Regions from separate parts of the Homo sapiens genome. Here region 2 is linked to region 1. Evidence: promoter capture Hi-C in human tissues and cell types (Jung and others, 2019). All regions are on one chromosome and are shown on one strand. The core of a region is centred on a gene start or on the middle of the fragment in contact, and the rest is flanking DNA. Distances in the headings are between cores, read along the strand shown.

What was found. The method cuts DNA at HindIII sites, captures the fragments that hold promoters and counts their contacts. A contact is called where the count stands out against the background at its distance.
Region 2: a contact is called between a fragment that was not itself captured here and the fragment with the promoter of EMILIN2 in region 1, in 3 of the 25 tissues and cell types used here (H1 embryonic stem cells, lymphoblastoid cells and spleen).

What each region holds. Positions count from the first base shown.
Region 1 is chr18:2,844,302-2,848,573 of GRCh38, reverse strand. EMILIN2 (elastin microfibril interfacer 2) reads right to left here and starts at 1,568. Exons shown (of 8, transcript NM_032048.3): 1 at 1,252-1,568; 2 at 643-765. The coding sequence starts at 1,385. RefSeq lists silencers at 591-680, 1,301-1,350. The HindIII fragment of the contact is 15,158 bases long and covers 1-3,669 here.
Region 2 is chr18:2,562,543-2,566,790 of GRCh38, reverse strand. METTL4 (methyltransferase 4, N6-adenosine) reads left to right here. Exons shown (of 9, transcript NM_022840.5): 3 at 2,932-2,994. Among named protein-coding and RNA genes, the nearest start is that of METTL4, 6.8 kb to the left of the region's middle. The HindIII fragment of the contact is 6,769 bases long and covers 1-4,248 here.

The DNA of each region.
Region 1 (4,272 bases), core at 319-2,818:
AGCAAAAAGATGATTAATTCTTCCCCCTGTCTTTAACGGCCATTCTCTCCCACAATCTCTAGAGAATCTCCAAATCTAAGTTGCGGGGAGGGATGCTGGGGAGCCACACTTTTAAGCAAAGTGTTCCTGAGGTTTTAGCTTAGACATCTACAAAACTGGAAGATTCCGTTTTATGGGGACATACGGACAGAACTCACTCGTTTTAGAACACTACTTAGCCAAACCTCTCAGCGAATCCTATACGGAATAGTCTTTAGCAGTATACATTTTGGAATCTTCTGTGTGCCCCAGAACACACAATATGGATCCAATTAGATTCAGCTGCCTTATGTTACAAACAAACATTGAAAGGGAGAAAACAGAAGTGGGAGTGGGAGCTTTGTTCATCCTCTCCTACGCCCCCGCGACCCCACACTCCCGAGGCGCGCGCATCCTCCCCACTCACTCGGGCAGCACCCACTCCCTAAATAGCCCAGCGTGGCCGGTGCCCCGCGAGCGCTCGGAGCGCTTTTCCGCTGCGGGCTTTTCACCGGATCTGGAAGGGATTTACCGGAGGGACTGGAGCCCAGCGCAGCAACCCCACCCCACCCCCACCGCCCCGGCCCGGGCGCGCCCCGCCCGCTCCCCGGCTCCAGGACTTACACCAGCGCCGACGGACAGGGCATCTGGTTCCAGGCACAGTTGTACTGAGCCTGAATAAAACTCTCACTTCCCTCCAGCACGGAGCAGCTCACATTCTTGTTCACGATGTAGGCGCACCAGTTCCTGGGGTGCAGGAGAGAGAGGGAGAGGGGCACGGGGTAAACCCGGAGAACAATGAGGCCAGGGGAGAGGGGACTGCGGCACCAGACCGAGCGAGGGTCGGGGGGGCCCGTCGCCCTCTGCGGAGGCGGGAGCTTCACCGAGCAGACGCCGGAGGGTGCCCGGGTGCGCCTCTGGAGAGCGCGCGCCTGGACCCGACCAAGACGGGAAAGAAAAGCACCCATGGTCCCAGGGGCTCATGGAATTCCTGGGAGTCGTTTTCGGATCGCCCGGGTCTGCGGGACGCTCTCTGCGCCCACGCCCCCGGAGTCAGCTCTGCCTGAGGCGCCGGCTGCGGAGCGCGCGGTCCCCCGCAGAGGGAGCCGCCCGGGGAAGTCCAAGGGAGGCCCCCGGCTGCCGCTCGTCGTCTTTGGCAGGGCAGCTCTGGGGCTCAACTGGGGGCCGGGGAGGGGTAGGCGGTTTGGGGCCAGCCAAGGGGCGCGCACTTACTTGTTCCTGGCGCTGGGCCGCGCGGGATACCCGGGCTGCGGGCCGGCGTGGCACAGCCCCGCGCCAACCAGGGCCAGCAGCGCCAGCGCCCAGCGCCAGGGCACGCGGGGCCAGGGCCGTCTGGGCTGCCACATCCCGCGCGCAGCGGGCGCGCCCCGCCTGCCCGGGTCCGGAGCGCGGCGGATCGGGGCACCGGCCACAAGGCTGCCGGCGGCCAGGGCGCCGCCCGCGAAGGCAAGAGGCTCGGGCGCTTCGCGGCGCTCCAACCAGTGCTCCGCGGCCGCCCCCTCCGGCTTCTCGTTCCTACTTCTCCTTCTGCAGCCCCGTGCGCCCTGCGCTTCTCCCCGGTCCCTCAATGACGCACAGGTCCCCCCGGGTGCCGCCCTCTTTATTTCACTTCCCTCTCCGAAACGTGACTCTCCCCCCACCAAGTCTCCCCGTCTCCAGTCCCTTCGCTTCTCGGCAGGGGGCTCGGGGTGGAGGGGCGAAAGGGTTTGGGATAAGGGTCTACGTTACAGCATTTCCAATGACTCATTCCTTTGGTCTCTTCCCAGATGCCGAGCGACTCCGCCTCCCACCTTCCGACAGGCTCGCTCCCGGCCCCCCGGGACGCGGCCGCCGTCGGCGAGTCTGGCCGTCCTCGCGTCGTGCCTGGGTGCCAGCCTCCCGGGGCGAATGAGGGACATGTTTATCAGTCCCGCGGGGAGAGGAGTGGGGGCTCGACTCGAATTTCCTCCTCGGGCAAGACAGGGCCGTTCCCCCACCAGCTCCATGGACCTAGAGAGTCCAGGAGGAAACGAACGCTGGTTCTTTCTTTGCCCAACTCTGCCTTAGGCACCATCTGACAGTTTCCGAGGCCACGCGGGGGGCGGCAGGACAGGACAAGCCACAGCCCCGCCAATTCCCAGAGGCTGCTGCAGCTCAGCGTCCGGCTCTATCACTTACTGCAATTCTCCTCCAATTCTTGAAAGGTGATCTCACAGCCTCTGCTTCTGAGGTCCCACTGTGAACTTTCTTTTTCTATTGAAACTAAGGCATTTACTCACGTTTGCTTCTTAACAGTTCAGGCACTGCTAGACATCCGTCTTAAACTTTCTTGTATGTTTTCTGCCTGTTGTTGAGTTACACTAATCTCTACCGATGTCTTTTTGGGATGAAGTACCAGAATGTTAAGTAAAATCACCACCCAAGTGTTGTATTCTAAGGGGTGTTGGAGAGAGCTGTGTGTTTGAGATGACCTGCTGCATCTAATCAATGTACAGGGTCGTGAGTGGCGTGGTTACCAGACTCCACAGATAAAACTGTGGCCTCTGTGAGCTAACCAGACGCTGTTGGCCATGACTCGTTAAGTGAATAAAGCTTTGCTATGGGCCAGGCGGGGTGGCTCACGCCTGTAATCCCAGCACTTTGGGAGGTCGAGGCGGGTGGATCACCTGACGTCGGGAGTTCAAGACCAGCCTGACCAACATGGAGAAACCCCGTCTCTACTAAAAGTACAAAAAAAAAAAAAAAATTTGCCGGGCACGGTGGCACATGCCTGTAATCCCAGCTACTTGGGAGGCTGAGGCAGGAGAATCGCTTGAACCAGAGAGATGGAGGTTGCAGTGAGCCGGGATCTCACCACTGCACTCCAGCCTGGGCAAAAAGAGTGAAAATCTGTCGCAAAAAATAAAAAATAAAAACGTTTGCTATGTTCCTACTTTACTAAATGAAGCCATTGGTCTATTTTGTTTCTAATATTCTTTGATGGTGTTGTTGGACCTTTTGATTTGCAGATGAAAGAAAGAGAAGTCCCTAAGTAGAAACTACAAGGGCCAAGCAGAACATTATACCATGTAAGGACATCATCTGTCCCTGGACTCTTAAGCGGAAGATCATGCAAATAGTGGACTGAAGTCATCCCAGCCTTCAAAAGAGCCACCGTGGGGGGGAAATAACAGAAAGGGATAAAAAGCTGTCTTTCGTAACCCAATCTGTATCTTTCTGTGTGACTTCCCTATCCTGCCTGTCCTAACACCATCTTGGCCGTAAAGACTCATAGAGTAGAAACAGAGTATAGAAATGAAGAAGAGGAAGAGGGGGGGAAATGGGGGAAACACACAAGTTGTGTGTGTCTACAATTAGCAGAGAACAACTCCAATGTGTGTCTGGTACAGGTAAATCTCAAACTTGAAAGTGCATTGAACTGATCAAGTCAATCTGTTTTTTCCGTCAAATCAAAGTTATAATAGGAAGTTGTCTAAGAGTATAAGGGCCAACTTGTCATTGAGATGACCACAATACTATATTTAATCAGCTATCAATAACATTTATTGGTAAATAAATTTCATTCTGAGCATCTGTTACAAGCTAGGCATTGTGCAAAAATACTGAGGATTCATGAGTGAGCCCAAACTGACACGGGGCTTGTGTTTGGAGAGCTTCCAGGCATTGCCATGCAATGAAGGGTGTTAGCGTTCCTGATGGACAGTCAACTAAGTGAGCTAATGTTTATTGCATGTCTTTCTCTAGACATAAGCCCATGTATGTTATTGTGGGTCTGCCCCTGGAAGACAGAACATTCTTGACTTTCAGAAGGTTACTTCCCTCTTTTGTATTTTTATTTATTTATTTGGGGGAAAGGGTCTCACTCTGTCACCCATGCTGGAGTCCAGTGGCATGATCATGGCTCACTGCAGCCTCGACCTCCCAGGCTCAAGCAATCCTCCTACCTTAGCCTCCTGAGTAGCTGAGACCACAGGTGTGTGCCATTACACTCAGCTAATTTTTTGAATTTTTGGTAGTGATGGGATCTCACCACGTTTCCCAGGCTGGTCTTGAACACTTAATCTCAAGCCATCCTCCTGTCTTGGCTTTTTAAAGTGCTGGGATTTCAGGCATGAGCCACTGTGCCCGGCCTATTATTCCATTCTTTTACTTTTTTGTTTTTTTTTTTTCTCTTGAGATGGAGTCTTGCTCTCTCATCTAGGCTGCAGTACAGTGGTGCAATCATGGTGCACTGCAGCCTCGATATCCCTGGGC
Region 2 (4,248 bases), core at 1,282-3,781, 280 kb after region 1:
TCCAGAAAACATAATTGAGATTTATTATCTAAATGTCTTAAATATCTGGTGATTCGTTAAGTATAAAGAAGAATCAGTAAAACCCAAAAAGGCTTTAGCATATCTGAAATAATTTGTAGCTTTTTTCTAGCTTCAACTATTCTTAGAAGACCAAATTGCATAGTATTTCAAAAATAAGCAAAGTTGGCTGGGAAGTGAATTCTCTGTAAATTAAGCAAAGAAAATAAACCCAGACAGCAAAAAAACAAACAAAAAGCCAAACAAAAAACTCCCCCAAAACCCTTTTCTTGATTAGGCATTTGTATTAATTGAATATGTTTACAACTGTTTTTGCTTTAAAAAAAAAGTTTTTCTACAAAATTTCTAAGCAGTAAGTGGTATTTCGGAGGTTTTTAGAGAGCTATCCCTTGGAGATACGTAATAAAAGTTTGTAAGAAGGGTGATTGTTTTAAAAGTTTCTAGTGATACAAGTAGAAAGCTCCTGTGGTAAATATACCCGTTTGTAAAGTATATGTATTTGTATATTCACACTGGTGCAATCTTTTAGTAGAGTTTTGGGAATGCCATACAGGATCAAATTAATTATGCTTTAATACTTTTTATCTCTTTCAGGAATTTAGAGGTGATTTTACAAAGTCCATTTTAGATATCTGATATCAGCATTGTCTTTTTTACTTATTTTTATTTATTTGTTTATTTTATTTATTTATTTATTTATTTATTTATTTATTTATTTATTTATTTGAGACAGAGTCTTGCTCTGTCACCCAAGCTGGAGTGCAGTGGTGCTATCTCAGCTCACTGCAAGCTCCGCCTCCCGGGTTCACGCCATTCTCCTGCCTCAGCCTCCCGAGCAGCTGGGACTACAGGCGCTTGCCACCACGCCTGGCTAATTTTTTGTATTTTTAGTAGAGACGGGGCTTCACTGTGTTAAGCCAGGGTGATCTTGATCTCCTGACCTCGTGATCTGCCCACCTCGGCTTGAGCCACTGCACCCGGCCTCAACATTTTCTTTTTTAGTGATAGGATTAACATTCATTACTCACCGAACAAACGTTTGAGCTCTTTCTATGTGCCATTGTATGCAGAGTGATGAAACAAGATAAACATAATCCCTCCCTGATGGATCTTATAATTCGGTGAAGAAGAAAGATATTAAATACGAAAGTTTGTTGAGAATTAGAATAAGGAAAGTAATAAAGAAAATACATTTTCTGAAATGGAACTTTTTAATATTGTGACTTTTTTCTTGTGCATATTCTTCTTTTTTTTAATTTTAATTTTAATTTTTAAGTTCACAGGTACATGTATAGGTTTGTTATATAGATACATTTGTGTCATGGGGTTTTGTTGTACAAATTATTTCATCACCCAGGTATTAAGCCTAGTACCCATTAGTTATTTGTCCTGATCCTTTCCCTCCTCCCATCCTCTGACCTCCATCTTCCAGTAGGCCCCAGTATCTGTTGCTCCCCTCTGTGTGTTCATGTGTTGATCCCCCTTTTTTTTTTTGAGACGGAGTCTTGCTCTGTTTCCCAGGCTGGAGCGCAGTGGCGTGATCTCGGTTCACTGAAACCTCTGCCTCTCAGGTTCAAGCAATTCTCCTGTCTCAGCCTCCCGAGTAGCTGGGATTATGTGTGTCCACCACCATACCCGGCCAATTTTTTGTATTTTTAGTAGACACCTTGTTGGCCAAGCTGGTCTTGAACTCCTGATCTCAGGTGATCCACCTGCCTCGGCCTCCCAAAGTGCTGAGATTACAGGTGTGAGCCACCATGCCCAGTCCCCTTTTTCCTTTCATCAAATATTTATTGATCATTTACTACGTGTCACACACAGAAAAGAAAATATTTAGCATTGTCCGAGGTCTTAGTAAAATAGTATGTTGTAATATAAGTAATTCAGATAATAACAAGCCTTTGTAAAGGACTTTATAGTTTACAGGGTATGGGCATTAATTTTTAATGTTTAATCTCTCAGGTTGGGTAAATTTCTTATAACATGGAAAAAAATAGATGAACCTATGTAATAAATGTAATCTTGATGACACCTTCTGATATGCTAAAGCAAATTATACAATATTAAGTCCATTTATTTATTTAGCCAACAGACATTTATTGTTAGCATGCTAAGAGTTTGACACAAGGTAAGCACTGGAGTTTCAGCCATAAAAAGTACTAAGTCCTTACTCTATATTGTTAGATATAGAACAGTGTCAATATAAATCTGATTCATACCTAACCCTCATCAGTCATAAGCACATTGGAATTTCTTTTGATGATAGCACCTGGCTAGTTTCTCTTCTCAGAAATAAAGGAAATTGAGAATAACTATACCATATATAAAGTGATAGATGGCACTGGTAACTTCATACGGTGTCATAGTTTCCTTGTATTTCATGGGTGCTGATGCTACACTTTATCATGTGGAACTAGTTCTTTTTTTTGAGACAGAGTCTCGCACACCATTCTCCTGCCTCAGCCTCCCAAGTAGCTGGGACTACAGGCGCCTGCCACCATGCCTGGCTAATTTTTTTTTTTTTTGTATTTTTAGTAGAGATGGGGTTTCACCATGTTAGCCGGGATGGTCTCGATCTTCTGACCTCGTGATCCTCCCGCCTTGGCCTCCCAAAGTGCTGGGATTACAGGCGTGAGCCACCGTGCCCGGCCAGAACTAGTTCTTATTAATAGCAGATAAAGCTGAGGTGACCTTTTACAATCCATTTTGTTTATGTTGTTGTTTTTAATTTACTTTGGGAAAGCTTACCTCCTCACTCCATACCCTTTGCATTGATTTTGACCTCAGTAGACAATTACTACTATTAATTATTAATTATTATTAGACAGATATAAGACATAAATAATGTTATAATGAAAAAGCAAAATATTAATGGCAACATAACTTTTCCCCTGTAATTGATCTACCCTTTAGAAGCGTAAAAGATGTGTTGTTTTCAATCAAGGTGAATTGGATGCTATGGAATACCATACAAAGGTAAGTGTAAAATGTTCATTGATCACATTGGAAGATTAATGTGAAGTAGTAGAAAATAAATGGACAACATAAATAAGGATTTTTTTTCAAAATCAAGCAATCATTTTGATCAGGCTTAGCACTTAATATATTTATTGTTAATTTTATAGTAATGCACAGTTTAAACCAGTTTTGTCTTTTTTTTTTTTTTTTTTTTGAGGCAGAGTCTCATTCTGTTGCCCAGGCTGGAGTGGAGTGGTAGTGGTGTGATCTCAGCTCACTGTAGCCTCTGCCTCCTGGGTTCAAGCAATCTCATGCCTTGGCCTCCTCTGAGTAGCTGGGATTATAGGCGTGTGCCACCATGCCCTGCTAATTTTTTGTATTTTTAGTAGAGATGGTGTTTCACCATGTTGGCCAGGCTGGTCTCAAACTACTGAGCTCTGGCCATCCGCCAGCCTCAGCCTCCCAAAGTGCTAGGATTTTACAGGAGTGAGCGACTGCATCCAGCCTAAACCAGTTTTTATTGAAACTTCATGTACTTCTATTAGTTTAAATATTTAACAAAGTAAACTTATGCTATATTGGTTAAGTTTAGAGATTTTAGAGATTATAAAATCCTATTGTCTAGATAAAACAATATATTAAGAGAGTGGCAGAAGAGAGCATGAGTAATGTGAAGGATATGTTTCTAGAACATAGCGATAAATGAGATCAGAGAGTTAAAGAAATGAGAAGAAACAGAATGAACACAAATATTTTAAGCTTAATTTTTTTTTCCATGGAGCACCTTTGAAATGGCAAAATTCAGTCTGGAATTCGGTCTTGTTGAATTAATGTGATGGTAGAACCCTGGGTTTTTTTTCCCTTTCTTTCTTGTTGTAGTAGAATATACATAAAATTTTCCATTTTTAACCATTTTTAAGTGTAAAATTCTGCGGCATTAAATACATTCACAATGTTGTACCACACCACTGCTGTTCATCTCTAGTACTTTTTCATCATCCCAAACTGGAACTCTACCATTATTTAATAACTCCCCATCCCCCCGTCCCCCAGCTGCTGGTATCCTTTATTCTACTCACTGTCTCTGTGAATTTGCCTATGGTAGATATTTCATATAAGTGGAATCATACAATGTTCATCTTTTTGTATCTGGCTAATTTCATTTAGCATAATGTCTTCAAGGTTCATCCATGTTGTAGCATTTATCAGAATTTCCTTTTTAAGGGCGAATAATATTTCATTGTTTGTATATACTACATTTTGTTTATTCAT